Linked DNA regions of Homo sapiens: all the other regions are linked to region 3. Evidence: promoter capture Hi-C in 16 types of primary human blood cells and fetal thymus (Javierre and others, 2016). All regions are on one chromosome and are shown on one strand. Each heading gives the region's core, a stretch centred on a gene start or on the middle of the fragment in contact. The rest is flanking DNA. Distances are from core to core; before and after follow the strand shown.

Region 1 (3,074 bases), core at 574-3,073, 190 kb after region 3:
ACCGCACCCGGACCCTGAGCATGCGGACCTTTTACAAATATGTGTGGCCTTGGGGGGAAGAAAGGGATGTCTGAGTGTATGTCCAGTTGGGTGTGAGCACGGTGGTCATTCTGGCTAAGCGTGGCATGGAGTCGTTGGGGCTGAGATGCCACATAAGACCCTGCTCCCCCCATTTCCCATTGTTCTCTGGGCTTGCCTGATGGCTCTTAGGATAAATCCTTTGAGAACCAGAGACCCCTCCCTCTGCTGCTCAAATCCTAGAGAGCTTTGGCAGTTTCTAACTTTTGAAGACCAGCATTGTTTAAAAATTCCACTGCCCCCTCCTAGGGGAGGATCATACTTTCCTGTCCCATCGACGGCAGGCTTATCCCTTATGGCTTGCTCTGGCCAGAAGATGTGAGCAGAAATGACATGTGTCATTTCCAAACAGAAGCTCTAAGCATGAGTGCACAGTGCCCCTCTCTCTCTCTGTTCCCACATATATTCCAGATAAAGGATCTTTTGTCAGCTGGGTCCCAGAGTGAAGATGGTGTGGGACAGAACCGTAGCCAGTCCACAGTGGACACGCACCAGGAGCGGGAAATGAACCTTTGTTGTGGTAAACCACAGGGATTTGAGGGGTCACTTGCTACCACGGCTTAATCTAGCTGATCCCAGCTGGACCCACGAGAAAAAGGCACCAGGAAATGACAGCACCGCAGCACGCCACCCCCAAACTCGCATTACCTTATGCTTAGTCATGGTGCTAAAGTGGTTGTTTCGGAAAAAGACGCTAAGTTCACCCTCCTTAGCAGCTGCTGTCAGCTCACACAGTCCGTGGTAGGTCAGCTGGGCCGCGGTGGTCTCCAGGAACTGCTCTGCAATCAGGCCTGCCAGAAAGGGACGAGTCGGGGGAAACTTGGCTTAAATTCAAGGTCCACAACAGGAAGGACCATCCAGAGAGCCCCTGTCAAAAGCCCCGGGGGGTCAGTCCCACCTTCTGACGTCCCTTTCTTGAAACCTGGCTGTATTCATTCACTTAACAAATACTTATAATAGAGCAGCTACCTTGTGCCAGGCACTGGGGATACCTCAATGAACTAAACAGAAATTCCCCAAGCTCCTTCTTGTGAAGCTTATATCTAGTGGGATGTGGTAGGAGATGACACCCAATAAAAAATAAGCCTAAGTAGCTGTCATTCCCTCCACATACTATCCATGAGAAGGGGAGGAATGTCACCTTCTGTCACGAGGTTGGTGTCACTGGAGTGTTTGCAGGTGATGATCCTCTCCACCAGCTGGTTGTAACTCAGTTTCCCAACTGCACGCACAGCCTCAGGACTCTGCTTGGGTAGTGGGATGTGGGATACCAAAAAAATTGGGATTTTTTTTTCTTTTTTAAGGAAGGAAATGAACAAAGCTCACAAGGACTACAACCCTGTGATGAATGGTTCCTAAACACTTTTTTTTTTTGGTCTCTCAAAAAAGAAAAAAATTTCAGGAACCATTCATCATAGGGTTGCTATGTTGCCCAGACTGGCCTCGAACTCCTCCCAAGTAGCTGGGAATACAGGCATGTGCCACCAAACCCATCTGCTTCCTGAATTTTTGATGTCTAAAGAACTGACCTATTTGCATGTAGTTTGCTTGTATTTGCATGTTACCCCCAAAATAGATTAAAATTCAAGGAATTCTGTACTGGGTCCAGTCTCTAAACACTATTTCCCTCCCAAGCCAATCTAACCCCTAACTCCCTAACCTCTACCCGACAAAAATTTGCCTCTCTCATGTCAGCTTGAGCTGGATAAGGTCCCAGTGGGCCCTCCCACCCTCACCTGTGGATCAACAAGCCAGCCATGGTACAGAGGTATGCCTAGCAGGTCAAAGACACTGCACTCGGGTGTATACTCAAAATCAGAGACGCCTGTGAATCGCACATTGACATCCAGACCTGTGGCCAGTTTAGGCAGCACTGTCATTGCATCATCCACATTCTGGGGGTAGAAAAAAAAATGATGGAGATTCTAGCCTTCTCTCCCACCACTCCACTCCCACCTGCAGAAATTAAAAATTAACCTTGCTGCTCTTCTTCCCTGATTCTCTTACAAGCCACTCCATTTCTCCCTTGCCTCAACCCTTCTCTATCTTATATAAATGAACATTGTTTTTCTTTGAGAGTCTAAGTCTAATTCTTTCATCCAGGCTGGAGTGCAGTGGTGTGATCCTAGCTCACTGCAGCCTCAAACTCTTGGTTTCAAGTGACCCTCCCACCTCAGCCTCCTGAGTAGCTGGGACTACAGGCACGCACCGCCATACCTGGCTAATTCTTGAAAAAAAAAATGGTTTTTTTTAGAGACAGGGGTATTATTATGTTGCCCAGGCTGGCCTCGAACTCCTGGCCTCAAGTGATCCTCCCGCTTTGGCATCTCAAAGTGCTGGGATTACAGGTGTGAGCACCCGGCCAATGAACATATTTTCTAGGACAAAGATAAACTCTCCTCTGACTCCTGCAGAATGAAATCATGGTTCAAGGAAACCTCTGAAGAAGCAACAAAAGCTTATCTTAGTATTACAAGATGTCCCCTTACAAACCTGCAAACCCCTATGCCTGCAGACCTTTTGCCTCACCTGCTGAAAATTAAGCTGAAGTCCCTCTGACTTCTCCTGGGGCTTGATGGACAGGAGGCAGTTTCCTACAAGACAGGGCCCCTTATCAGCTTACCCCACCAATCATCCCAAAAGCTAAGTTTCCTCTTCTCCTGGAGAATGCGGGTAATGTCACAGAACACAGATTTTCAGAGCTGGAAAATACTTAGAGTCTAATCCAGACTCTTCATTTCTCAGAGGAGGCGACAGCCTCATAAAGGTGAACGGCCCACCCAGGGTCAGATACAAAAGCTAAGGGCAGAATTGGTGTTACAACCCAGGACTCCCGACGCCTTTGCTTTTCATTCTCCAGCCTTGCAGAGAAGCCCCATAGACCCTTACCCTCCCTGCTGTATCAGAACCCCCAAATGGAGATCCCTGAATAGTCTGGATTTCTGGCTGAGTGGATAGCTCTGGAGCCCCTTGGGTAATTCCTCTTCAACGCCCAG
Region 2 (3,253 bases), core at 34-2,533, 220 kb before region 3:
GCCTGCCACCACTCTCGGCTAATTTTTTGTATTTTTAATAGAGACGGGGTTTCACTATGTTGGCCAGGCTGGTCTCAAACTCCTGACTTTGTGATCTGCCCGCCTCAGCCTCCCAAAGTGCTGGGATTACAGATGTGAGCCACTGCACCCGGCCAAGAAAAGATATTATTTCTGAGATGCAGTCTCACTCTGTTGCCCAGGCAAGTGGCAGTGGCAGTGGCTTGATCATAGCTTATTGCAGCCTTGAACTCCTTGGCTGAAGTGATCCTCCTGCCTTGGCCTCCCAAGTAGCTGGGACTAAAAGCACACACTACCACACATAGGTAATTAAATTTTTTTTTTTTTTTTTTTTTGGAGAGACAGAATCTTGCTATGTTGCACAGGCTGGTCTTAAACTCCTGGGTTCAAGAGCTCTTCCCACACCAACCTCCCAAAGTGCTGGGATTATAGGCATGAGCCACCTCACCCACCCTATTATTATTATTAGTCCTCCCAACAACTCTTAAGAAAAACATATCATATTCTTATCCCCATTTTTTATACAAAAAGAAAATTAAATGTAGATTTGGGAATTTATAGCCAGCTTTTAATTGATGGCTAGCATTTGAATTCAAGTCTAATTGTAGAGCCCTTTCTTATCCAGGAAGACTATGTAACAGGAGAAAGGAGGACCATGTAGAACTCTGAGGAATACCAATGTTTAAGAGGTGGGCAGGAAAAGAGAAAGAAGAACCAGAGATGAATTGTTTAAGTATTAGTTTTTGGGGGCTGCCATAACAAAGTACCAAAGGCTCAGTGGCTTAAACAACAGAAATTTATTTCCTCACACTTCTGGAGGCTAGAAGTCCAAGGTCAAGGTATCGAAGGTTGTTTCTTCTGGGGCCTCTTATAAATGGCTGTATCTTGTCCGGTGCCCTTTTTTTTTTTTTTTTTTTTTTGAGATGGAGTTTCACTCTTGTTACTCAGGCTGGAGTGCAATGGTGCAATCTCAGCTCACTGCAACCTCTGCCTCCCAGGTTCAAGCAATTCTCCTGCCTCAGCCTCCCAAGTACCTGGGATTACAGGCACATGCCCCCATGCCTGGCTAATTTTTGTATTTTTAGTAGATACAGGTTTTCACCATGTTGGCCAGGCTGGTCTCAAACTCCTGACCTCAGGTGATCCACCAGTCTCAGCCTCCCAAAGTGCTGGGATTACAGGCGTGAGCCACCGTGCCCGGCCAACCTTAGTTACTTCTTTAAAGACCCTTTCTCCAAATGCAATCCCAGGCTGAGGTACTGGGGGTTAGGACTTCAACACAGGAATTTTGGGTAGCGAGAAGGGAGGCAAAATTCAGTCCCTAACACTCTGTGATATGTTTTCATGGCACCCTTTATTTTCCTTCACAGTATATATTATATATACATACACATACACACATAGACATAGTATATATGTAGTTATTTCTTTAGTTATTTGTTGAATTACTGTATCTACATTTCTAGAAATTGTTCCTTTAAAAATCTTTTTTTTTTTTTGTCAGATTCTTGCTCTGTCACCCAGGCTGTAATGTAATGGCGTGATCTCGGCTCACTGCAACCTCTGCTTCCCGAGTTCAAGCAGCTCTCCTGCCTCAGCCTCCCGAGTAGCTGGGATTACAGGCATGTGCCATCACGCCCAGCTGATTTTTGTATTTTTAGTAGAGACGGGGTTTCACCATGTTGGCCAGGCTACTCTCGAACTCCTGACCTCCTGATCTGCCTGCCTTGCCCTCCCAAAGTGCCGGGATTACAGGTGTGAGCCACCGCACCTGGCCTGTTTTTTTTTTTTTTTTTTTTTTTTTAAACCAAGCAATGGTTATGGAAGTCTTGTCATTTTTAGTGATTTATTCCCTAGTGATACATTATTTTTTCTGTCCGGTGCTTGAATCAGGCTTTTATATATATTAAACATACTTCTTTTTTGTTTTGTTTTGAGATGGAGTCTTGCTCTGTCACCCAGACTGGAGTGCAGTGGTATGATCTTGGTTCAGTGCAACCTCCGCCTCCCGGGTTCAAGTGATTCTCCTGCCTCAGCCTCCCAGGTAGCCAGGACTACAGGCACGTGCTACCACGCCCGGCTAATTTTTGTATTTTTGGTGGACACGGGGTTTCACCATATTGGCCAGGCTGGTCTCCAACTCCTGACCTCAGGTGATCCACGCACCTCCGGTCTCCCACAGTGCTGGGATTACAGGTGTGAGCCACCGCTCCTGGCAAACATACTTCTTTATATGCAGCAATATAATTCTAATATCCAAAGTCTCTGTGGGCATAATTCTGCTATTTATGATTTCTGCTCATTCTCATTTATGGTGGCCTACTTCCTGTTGCTTTGTGTTTGTGGGATTTTTATTAGTGAACACATATTCAAAGGAACTTAACAATAGGGATTTTTTTTCCTTATAGTTTATCATCTGAACTCCAGGGATTTTTTTTAGGTTTGCCTTGAAGGTGACTTTCTCCAGAGAGGATCTGTATTTCGTTCTCTGCAGTGCCTGACAATTAGGTTACTATCACCCTGTAACTACTTTAAAATAAATTCTGGGCTTGGTCGGGCTTGGTGGCTCATGCCTGTAATTCCAGCACTTTGGAAGGCCCAGGTGGGCAGATCACTTGAGGTCATGAGTTCGAGACCAGCCTGGCCAACATGGCGAAACCCGTCTCAACTAAAAATACGAAAATTAGTCGGGCATTGTGGTGGGTGCCGGTAATCCCAGCTACTTGGGAGGCTGAGGCAGGAGAATGGCATGAACCCGGGAGGCAGAGGTTACAGTGAGCCAAGATCACGCCATTGCACTCCAGCCTGGGCAACAGAGGGAGACTCCATCTCAGTAAGTAAGTAAATAAGTAAGTAAGTAAGTAAATAAATAAATAAATAAAATTCTGGGCTTGAAGTGTTTCTGTCTATTCAGGTAGTATAAACTTAGACTATAAACTCATGAAGACTAGCCTGTGAATACTCAGGGGAGGTCTTCACAATCCTCGACTTCCACCCCTGATTCAGAGCCAAGATTGCAGTAGGGACATTTCCTTGCTGTCTCTTTTTTCAAGGTGGGTATTTACTGGTTTACCCTTTCCTTTTTTTTTTTTTTTTTTTTTTTTGAGACGGAGTCTCGCTTTGTCACCCGGGCTGCAGTGCAGTGGCGCAATCTCGGCTCACTGCAAGCTCCGCCTCCCAGGTTCATGCCATTCTCCTGCCTCAGCCTCCAGAGTAGCTGGGACTACAGACACCT
Region 3 (3,137 bases), core at 638-3,137:
AAGAGATAATATGTAAACAAATACAACACAAAGCTCTGGAGAGACAGAAAAATTGCTTATAGATTAACAGCATTAATCTTAGAACTCTTCCCAAAAGAGAAATGTAACACACTTATAAAGCAAAGGAAGGATACAGTTTGACAGAGGATGATTTGAAGCATAGGAATGAAAACCGTATGTTAACATGAGTTAGGGAAGAGGGACTGATTTGCTTGGAATAAAGCATTTGGATTGAAGAAGGGAGTCTGGAAGCTAAGATGAGAGAGCTCAGGTCTCAGCCTTCCTGCCATGCCCCCTCCAGGACCCCAGGCACCTTGTTGTTATATTGCTTCCTGTGGGTCTTCTTCCATAGCTCCCAGTGGGTGTCCAGTATCTCCTCAGGGTACAGAGCAAAGCTCACCACAGGTAGCAGCAGAACCTTGAGCCCCCACATCCTGCAGAAGAATGTAGTTAGGGAAAACTCTTCCATTTGGCAGGGAAACAGAGGAAAACTAGGCTTTATGAGGAAGAGAAAGGTAGACGGAAAAAGGGTGATAAAACAATGATAGTCAGGAGGGGCCTGTGTTTAGATAGGATGCTGGTACATCTGGTTCCAAGGACTTTGATCTAGGGGGATTTAGCCATTTCTCTCTTTCTCTCTCTCTCTCTCTCTCGGGAGATTTAGGCAACACACACTCTCTCTGTTTCTCTCTCTGTCTCTCTCTCTCTCACACACACACACACACACACACACACACACACACACACACACACGTACACAACCAGAAATGGGGGATAGAAACTGGACAATCAGAATGGGCTCAGTGCGTTTCCTCCAGGGTCCCTAGCAGGCTTGGAGACAGACAAATAGCAAGGTGGTAGTGGGGTTCAGAATACACAAAGGAGAGATTTCCGTCTAAGTTTTGCCTCCTGATCATTTCTTCGAGGCGTTCTTCTCTTTCGTGCCTAAATTCTGGTACTTTCCCAGATCTTGTCAGAAGAGGACAAGGGAAAATAGGACAATGTTTCCTGTTTTCTGAGACATTGTATATCTCCTCATTCTCCTTATGCATTTCTTCTTCCTTTTTCTCTCCCTTCCCTCCTTAGGCAGGAAACTGCCCTAATCTTAACCAGATGCTGCGGGCAAGGTTTTTTATTTTTCCCCTAACAACAAAAACCCACTGTGGCTGCCGCAAAGGACAAGAAGCCTCAGATCCAAGGTTTGTTAGAAGAATGTTCAGACTGAAAAGCAATGTTCTATGATGATGAAATTCACAGCTTTTCATAAGTTTACTCTAGTTAGCTTCACTCATTTCTTGCATTGGCTTTCTTAATTACAAATCCTCCATTTTAAGAACAATTTGCAGCCTGCAGCATGACATATGGCTTACACAATTGCTTATAGTCCATTTACATGTAATTTTGCAAACTGGCAAAATGTCCAGTAGGACATTTAAAAACTAGAGTGTTAAGGGCTTTGAGATGTCTCAGTGAACAGGAAGCACTGAGCTACTACCTCCCCATACCACTCTCCTCCTCCTCACTAAGGAGTTAACCGTTTTGATCCTTGTTGGCCAAAGTAGAAAACACTGCAGAAAGGCCACTCTTGAAGGATGGGGAAATGATTCCCTATATACTTTGCTTTTACTAACAATCATGTATGTATATATATAAATCATACAAGGAATTCTACAGATTTCCAGGCAGATTTTATTTAGCCAGGGAATGACCTAAGAAGTGCATCTCTGTTTTCATCTGCAGAGGCTAAAAGTTTATTGTGATCCTCAAGTCACTACATCCCTAATACTCAGAGAATTGACAGGAATGAAAAGCTAAAAGATCTAGGAAGTTGCAAACGTTACCTGCTGATGGAAATCTGTTGTCTGGCTTCGTTTCGGCAGCAAAGTGTGGGCACACCATCAGGGGTGCTAGATTTATTCCATCGGGATTGCGGAAGTCAGCTCCAGTGATCGGCTGGAAAATTTGGGTAAGAGGAGGAGGCGGGGATAGAAATGCTGAGAGAAGGAAGGGTAGGGAGGAGGGAAGGAGGCAGTGGATTTGCAGTGTTTCTGTGTGTATGCAGCATGTGTGCCAGGGTAGGGAATTACTAGCTATTTAGTCTCACAAGACTGTCTTTGGTGGCAAATAACAAGACCTCAATATCTATTGACTCAAATAGGAGCTTACTTTCTCTTTTGGTGAGTAAAAGGAAGGACACAGCCCTAGTCTCTCCCATCCTTCTTCTTCAATATCTTTATTTTAATATTGGGGGATTATATCTTTTCCTACCCCTTTCCTGTTAGGATTTACCTCTCCAACATTGAAACCTATTTTCATATTTGTGTCTGACTCTCACCTCTGGGATGCGGTAATGAACATAAAAGGCTATAAAAGAATAATGTAATGGAAGCCATAGGCTCCAGAATTCTTTGTATTTTTATAAGCTTGTTGGTTGCAAGTTGTCATTACTTCCAGGCAGAATAGTTTTCCCAGCCTAATGTGGTTTTGCTGAAGGAGGATATGCCCAGAAAGTCCAGATGAAACTGTCTTTAAAAGTAACCAAAAACAGCAGTCCTGGTTATTTATGACAGCACTTGAATCAATGCCGTAAGTTCTGATGGACTCACATGTGACTCTGTTGCTAAAACTCTCAGGTGGTGGGATGCCCGATAAACATCATCTGTCTCAATTAAAATCCCCAATCTAGGACAAGTCACATGAGCTTCTCCAAATGCTTCCCCAACATCCAAGCATGTGACAGATCATAAGAATCTAGCTGATTCCTCAAACCACACCCCAAACTTCATTTTCTTCCATAAACAGATGTGGGGAAGGAGAAAAAAAGGCTTCTTGGAATAGAAAGGATAATAAATGGGATCTGTAATAGACTCAGTTTCTAGCTGGATTCCATGCATAAACCCTCAAAAATACAGGCTTATGCCTCTGGATTTTAAGAGCTGCTAACAGGCTAGGCGCAGTGGTTCACGCCTGTAATCCCAGGCCTTTGGGAGGCCAAAGCATGTGGATCACCTAAGGTCAGGAGTTCGAGACTAGCCTGGCCAACATATAGTGAAACCCCATCTCTACTAAAAAAAAAAAACACAAAAATTAGCTGGGCATGGTGGCACACACCTGTAGTGCCAGCTACTTGGGAAGCT
Region 4 (3,036 bases), core at 187-2,686, 140 kb before region 3:
GCTACCTAATTAAAGTTAAACTATAACTTCCTTCAGAACACGTAATTATGTAGGCATTATTTATTCTCGTAATAAATCTTAACAGGTGTGCAAACATTTTAGCCAATATTAAAGCAACTGGAAGAAAGTTTTCTTTTGTTGTCTCATTTCCTCCTGACCATGTAACTTCTGTTTCAGTGACAGTGACATCAGATTGTCAACAAAACTATAAATGAGAAGCAGTATAAAGAAATGATGAAGATCAGGATAAAGAAACTACATTTTTGAATGTCACACTTTCCTATTGTAGCATCTCAAAACATACAAAACTTTCCAAACGAGTTTTTAACTTTTTTATTAAGAATATGCAATAATAGACAAAAGTATAAAAACATATATGTAGAGTTTTAAGAAAATAATTATAAAACAAACACCTGTATAACTACAAGAAAGAGACTGGATTTAGAAAAAGAAAATAACTGAGAAAAGAGAGAACATGATAGTAAATGTTCCCCTGTACTGTGGGTACATATGACCAATAAAGATTATAATATTGTCATCTATAGTAATATTTAGAACAGATTGAAACAAATTTAGGTGCAGAATAGCCTGGAGGTAAGGGAAAATACAATTATTTATATTTAAAGGTCATTTTCCTCTTAGTGTATCTATCTAACTTAGTGAATTCTCCAGCCATTCATAATAAAGATTCTATATTAAATGGCCAATGCTTTGGTATGTCTGAGCAGGAAGACCTAGCACGTACATACTAAAGTTCACCATTTGATCATTAAATCTCATTACCAAAGGCTATCTAAAGAAAATTTTAGGACCTACCCAACACAGATGGAATTGCACATTGTCTCATGGCTAATGGAGAATCTCAGAGAATTTGCAGAATAAGATATTCAGATAGTGGACTTTAATATACATCTGTAGGCCGGGCGCGGTGGCTCACACCTGTAATCCCTGCACTTTGGGAGGTCAAGGCGGGTGGATCACCTGAGGTTAGGAGTTCGAGACCAGCCTGGCCAACATGATGAAACCCTGTCTCTACTAAAAATACAAAAATTAGCTGGGTGTGGTGGCACGTGCCTGTAATCCCAGCTACTCAGGAGGCTGAGGCAGGATAATCACTTGAACCTGGGAGGTGGAGGTTGCAGTTAGCTGAGATCACACCACTGCACTCCATCCTGGGCAACAAGAGCAAAACTCCGTCTCAAAAAAAAAAACTGCAGGCCCGGCGTGGTCGCTCAGGACTGTAATCCCAGCATTTTGGGAGGCTGACGTGGGTGGATAGCCTGAGGTCAGCAGTTCAAGACCAGCCTGGCCAACATGGTGAAACCCCGTTTCTACTAAAAAATATAAAAATTGGCCAGGTGTGGTGGTAGACGCCTGTAATCCCAGCCACTCAGGAAGCTGAGGCAGAAGAATTGCTTGAACCCCAGAGGTGGAGGTTGCAGTGAGCTGAGATCTCACCACTGCACTCCAGCCTGGGCGACAAGATTGAAACTCCATCTCAAAAAAAATTGTAAAAAAGAAAGAAAAATCCCATTATAGAAATGTATACTTTAGGCTGGGTGTGGTGGCTCACGCCTGTAATCCCAGCACTTTGGGAGGCTGAGGCGAGTGGATCATGAGGTCAGGAGATCGAGACCATCCTGGCTAACACGGTGAAACCCCGTCTCTACTAAAAATACAAAAAATTAGCCGGGCGTGGTGGCGGGTGCCTGTAGTCCCAGCTACTTGGGAGGCTGAGGCAGGAGAATGGCATGAACCCAGGAGGCGGAGCTTGCAGTGAGCCGAGATTGTGCCACTGCACTCCAGCCTGGGCTACAGAGCAAGACTCTGTCTCAAAAAATAAATAAATAAATAAAAAGAAATGTAGACTTTAGAAAGTGAAAGTGTTCTAGAATCTTATCCCCTCTAGAGGATCACTACCAACAGTTTAATGGGTACTTTTCTAGATTTTTATATACATATTCTATGTTTACACTTATTAATATTATTTCTAGAAATGGCATTACACTGAGTGGTAACTTTTTTCATTAACCCATTATTCTGGGTATCATTCCACATCAGTAAATATACTTCTTCATCCCTTGTAATGACTGCATAGTATTGCATTTTACATGCATTATAATTTTATCTATCCAAGCCCCTTACTGATGTGCATTTAGGTTGCTTACAGTATTTTGTTATTATTAAAAAATGTTGGCTGGGTGTGGTGGCTCAAGCCTGTAATCCCAGCACTTTGGGAGGCCATGGTGGGTGGATCACCTGAGGTCAGGAGTTTGAGACCAGCCTGGCCAACATGGTGAAACCCAGTCTCCACTAAAAATACAAAAAAATTAGCCGGGCATGGTGGCCCGTGCCTGTAATCCCAGCTACTCAGGAGGGTGAGGCAGGAGAATCCTATGAATCCAGGAGGCAGAGGCTGCAGGGAGGTGAGTTCGTGCCACTGCACTCCAGCCTGGGCGGCAGAGTAAGACTCCATCTCAAGAAAAAAAAAAAAAAGTAAAGACGTATTCATTTGTGTGTGTATTTCTGTTGAATATCTAGAAGAAAATTCTGGGTCAAATATTACACATATTTAAACTTTAAAGATTGCACAATGGGAATTCAATAAATTCAGACAGTCAACACTTTATGCTGAATTTCCACTTAGTCAAGTATTCAAAGTGCCCTTCCTTATTCAAACTTCCTTGAAGACACACCTTAAAACAACTCTGAAGGTTAAAGATCTTAAAAGTTGCCTGCTTGGCAAAAAAAGAGGAAAGAAGGGCCGGGCGCGGTGGCTCACGCCTGTAATCCCAGCACTTTGGGAGGCCAAGGCGGGCGGATCACCTAAGGTCAGAGTTTGAGACCAGCCTGGCCAACATGGTGAAACACTGTCTCTACTAAAAATACAAAATTAGCCGGGTGTGGTGCCGCATGCCTGTAATCCCAGCTATTCGGGAGGCTGAGACAAGGAGAATCGCTTGAACCTGGGAGGCGGAGGTTGCAGTGAGCCGAGATCGCACCACTGCACTCCAACCTGGACAACGAGAGCAAAAC
Region 5 (3,497 bases), core at 277-2,776, 160 kb before region 3:
CTAAGGGTGTTGAAAACCATAGAGATCTTGGTGGAGAGCAATTACAAGGTGCTGCTAGCTCTATGGCACTGGTATGACAAACCCAAATGGCAAAGCCTCCAGAAGTTTAACAGGCAGAACCAGAGAAACAGAAAGCCAAGAAAAGTCCTTCTGGAATCATGACCAACACTGGGGGTTGGGAAGACTGTGTGCTTGCACCAGGCTGCACCCACTCAGGAGCAATCAGAGCAGGACGTGGGGCTTGACTTGAGAGTATTCCCCAGACCACACATAGATCTATCAAAAAAGGGTGGATGCTTCACTGGCACCAAGGGCTAAAGCACAACCACTGAACCAACACTGGCTGAACAATAAGCTACCCTAACTCAGAGGCAACTCCTAGAAAGCTAAGCTTAAAAATAATAATAATAGCCGGGTGTGGTGGTACACGCCTGTAGTCCCAGCTACTTGGAGGCTTAGGCAGGAAAACCCAGGAGGCGGAGGTTTCAGTCAGCTGAGATTGTACCACTGCACTCCAGCCTGAGTGACAGAGTGAGACTTCATCTCAAGAAATGAAAAATAAAAAATAAAAATAAAATTAAAAAAATCACATACATCCCTGGTGTATGTCCAAGGATGTACTCTCTCCGAGAAGAAATCAGAGAGGGAACTTCCAAGCTGCTAGTTCCTCACTGAATGTGGGGCAAAATGTAAACTCCCTGATTTGTGATGGCTATGTCAAAATCACACACACATATCCAACAGTAAAGGATAAAAAAATTTAATTGGCTAAAAGGTCTTAAGCACAACCTTTGACTAATAAGTGGCTTCTACTGACCCACTGGCAACACACAGGGAGTTAGGCCAAAAGATAAAAACAAGAAAATATGAGCAGTGACATCAGAGGCTGCACACTACAAGAGAAACAGACTTCAGAGAGCTGCTGCAGGCAAGTCACTAAGGAAACAAATTACCAAGCAAACAACACAATCAACCTCTAGTGGGAAGGAGAAACCAGTATAGCAGGTGTCCCCAACCCCTGGACCATGGACTGGTACTGGTCTGCAGCCTGTTAGGAACCCGGCTGCACAGCAGGAGGTGAGCCATGGGTGAGTAAAGTTGAGCTCTGCCTCCCATCAGATCAGCAGTGGCATTAGGTTCCCACAGGAGTGTGAACCCTATTGTGAACTGCACATGGGAGGGATCTAGGTTGCATGTTCCTTGTGAGACTCTAATAAATGCAATGCACTTGAATCATACCGAAACCATCCCCCCGTCTCCCACCCCAGTGGAAAAACTGTCTTCCACGAAACCTGTCCTGGTGCCAGAAAAGTTGGGGACAGCTGCAGTGTAGTATCCAGAGTTGCACAATTATCTAAAATGTCCAGTTTTTGACAAAAAAGTATGAAGTATACAAAGAATAAATTGTGACCCATTGACCCATTCAGAAGAAAAAAAGCAGGCAATGGAAACTGCCTTTGAGAACGCTAAAATGTTGGACTTTACAAAGACTATAAAGCAGCTTTTATAAATATGTTCAAAGACCTAAGGGAAACCATGACTTATCATATAGAGAATATAAATAAAGACAGAAATTATAAAAAAGATCCATTTAGACCAGGTGCGGTGGCTCACGCCTGTAATCCCAGCATTTTGAGAGGCTGAGGTGGGTGGATCATTTGAGGCCAGGAGTTCAAGACAAGCCTGGCCAACATGGCGAAACGCCATCTCTACTAAAAATACAAAAATTAGCCAGGTATGGTGGGCACCTGTAATCCCAGCTGCTCAGGAGGCTGAGGCAGAGAATCGCTTGAACCTGGGAGGTGGAGGCTGCAATGAGCTGAGATAGTGCCACTGCACTCCAGCCTGGGCAACAAAGCAAGACTCCATCTCAAAAAAACAAAAACAAAAAAACCATTTAGAAATCCTAGAGTTTAAAAGTACAACAGACTGGGCATGGTGGCTCACGTCTGTAATCCCAGCACTTTGGGAGGCTGAGGCAGGCGGATTACTTGAAGCCAGGAGTTTGAGACCAGCCTGGCCAATATGGTGAAACCCTGTCTCTACTAAAAATACAAAATTAGCCGGGTATGGTGGTGTGTGCCTGTAGTTCCAGCTACTCAGGAGGCTGAGGCAGGAGAATCACTTGAACCCAGGAGGCGGAGGTTGCAATGAGCCAAGATCACACCATTACACTCCAGCCTCAGCGACAGAGCGAAACTCAAAAAAAAAAAAAAAAAAAAAAGTACAACAAACAAAATGAAAAAATCACTCAAGGGATCCAACAAGAGATCTGAGCTGGCAAAATAAAGAATTAGCAAACTTAGAGATCAAAGAAATTATGTAATATGAAGAACAAGGAGAAAAGAGAATGAAGAAAAATGAACAGACTCAGAGAAATATAAAGTATCATCAACTTGATGAACATACATAAAATGGAAGCACCAGAAGGAAAGGAGAGAAAGAGGCAGAAAAAATACTCAAGAAAGTAATGGCTAAAATCTTGCCAAACGTGATGAAAAACACTCAACCACACATTGGAGAAGTTCAACAAACTCCAAGTTGGATGAACACAAAGAGACCCATATCCAACATCATAGTAAAAATGTTGAAAACCAAAAATAAGTGGAAAATCATGAAAGCAGAAGAGAAAAATGACTTATCACATCACAGTGGAACTTTGTAAGCTTAATAACTGACTTCCCATTAGAAAAAATGCAGGCCAGAAGAATGAGTAGACTTATTCAAAGTGAGGGTAGAAACTATTAGCCAAGAATCTTATAACTGGCAAACTATCTTTCAGAAATAAAAGCAAAGCAGGTGTGGTGGCATGCACTTGTAGTCCCAGCTACTCAGGAGGCTGAGGCAGGAGAATCACTTGAACCCAGGAAGTGGAGGTTGCATTGAGCTGAGATCGTGCCACCGCACTCCAGACTGGGTGACAGAGTGAGACTCTGTCTCAAAAAAAAAAAAAAAAAAAAAAAAAAAACCCTAAAAAAAACAAAACAAAAATGAAGGCAAAGAAAAATTTCTAAAAAGGAGAAAAAATAAATACATTCCTAGATCTGAAAGAGTTCACTGCTAGCAGACCTGCTTATAAGAAATATTAATACTAAAACTAAAGGGAAGTTGTTAAGGCTGAGAGCAGGACACACTAGACAGTAATTTGAATCCACGTGAACAAACAGTAAAAGTAATTATGTAAGTAATAAAAAAGATGGTATAATTGGATACTTCATCTCAACTGATTTATAAAGCAATTGCACAAAACAATATTTATATAATTGTTATTGTTGAGTTATAATTTTTAACTTTTTAAACTTTTGCGCAAGGTTATAACACATAGAAATGTAATAATAGCACAAAGAAAGAGGGTGGGAAAAAAGTTGTGTTGAAGTAAGGAAAATGACAACAGATGGTAACTTGAATCCACAGGAAGAAATGAAGAAAACCAGAAATGGTAAATAAGGAGGTTAATATAACAAACTCTATAAGTATATATTTGTGCTTTCTTCTCT

The links. The method cuts DNA at HindIII sites, captures the fragments that hold promoters and counts their contacts. A CHiCAGO score of 5 or more calls a contact.
Region 1: a fragment that was not itself captured here is called in contact with the fragment with the promoter of CTSK in region 3 in 1 of 17 cell types (M1 macrophages); the score reaches 5.4 in M1 macrophages.
Region 2: a fragment that was not itself captured here is called in contact with the fragment with the promoter of CTSK in region 3 in 3 of 17 cell types (erythroblasts, megakaryocytes and endothelial precursors); the score reaches 7.4 in erythroblasts.
Region 4: a contact is called between a fragment that was not itself captured here and the fragment with the promoter of CTSK in region 3, in 3 of 17 cell types (endothelial precursors, megakaryocytes and erythroblasts). The highest score is 6.4, in endothelial precursors.
Region 5: a fragment that was not itself captured here is called in contact with the fragment with the promoter of CTSK in region 3 in 2 of 17 cell types (endothelial precursors and megakaryocytes); the score reaches 6.7 in endothelial precursors.

The regions. Positions count from the first base shown.
Region 1 is chr1:150,998,643-151,001,716 of GRCh38, forward strand. It overlaps MINDY1 (MINDY lysine 48 deubiquitinase 1), which reads right to left. Exons shown (of 10, transcript NM_001376665.1): 4 at 2,608-2,672; 5 at 1,815-1,973; 6 at 1,220-1,322; 7 at 727-869. Among named protein-coding and RNA genes, the nearest start is that of MINDY1, 6.7 kb to the right of the region's middle. The HindIII fragment of the contact is 1,422 bases long and covers 1,113-2,534 here.
Region 2 is chr1:150,589,461-150,592,713 of GRCh38, forward strand. All of the region lies in intron 2 of LOC107985203 (a long non-coding RNA gene), which reads left to right. Among named protein-coding and RNA genes, the nearest start is that of MCL1, 11 kb to the left of the region's middle. The HindIII fragment of the contact is 6,180 bases long and covers 1-3,253 here.
Region 3 is chr1:150,806,373-150,809,509 of GRCh38, forward strand. CTSK (cathepsin K) reads right to left here and starts at 1,888. Exons shown (of 8, transcript NM_000396.4): 1 at 1,842-1,888; 2 at 314-434. The coding sequence starts at 433. The HindIII fragment of the contact is 11,451 bases long and covers 1-2,421 here.
Region 4 is chr1:150,668,763-150,671,798 of GRCh38, forward strand. All of the region lies in intron 2 of GOLPH3L (golgi phosphoprotein 3 like), which reads right to left. Among named protein-coding and RNA genes, the nearest start is that of GOLPH3L, 27 kb to the right of the region's middle. The HindIII fragment of the contact is 5,826 bases long and covers 1-3,036 here.
Region 5 is chr1:150,649,441-150,652,937 of GRCh38, forward strand. The region is part of intron 4 of GOLPH3L (golgi phosphoprotein 3 like); the gene reads right to left. Among named protein-coding and RNA genes, the nearest start is that of ENSA, 22 kb to the left of the region's middle. The HindIII fragment of the contact is 2,275 bases long and covers 390-2,664 here.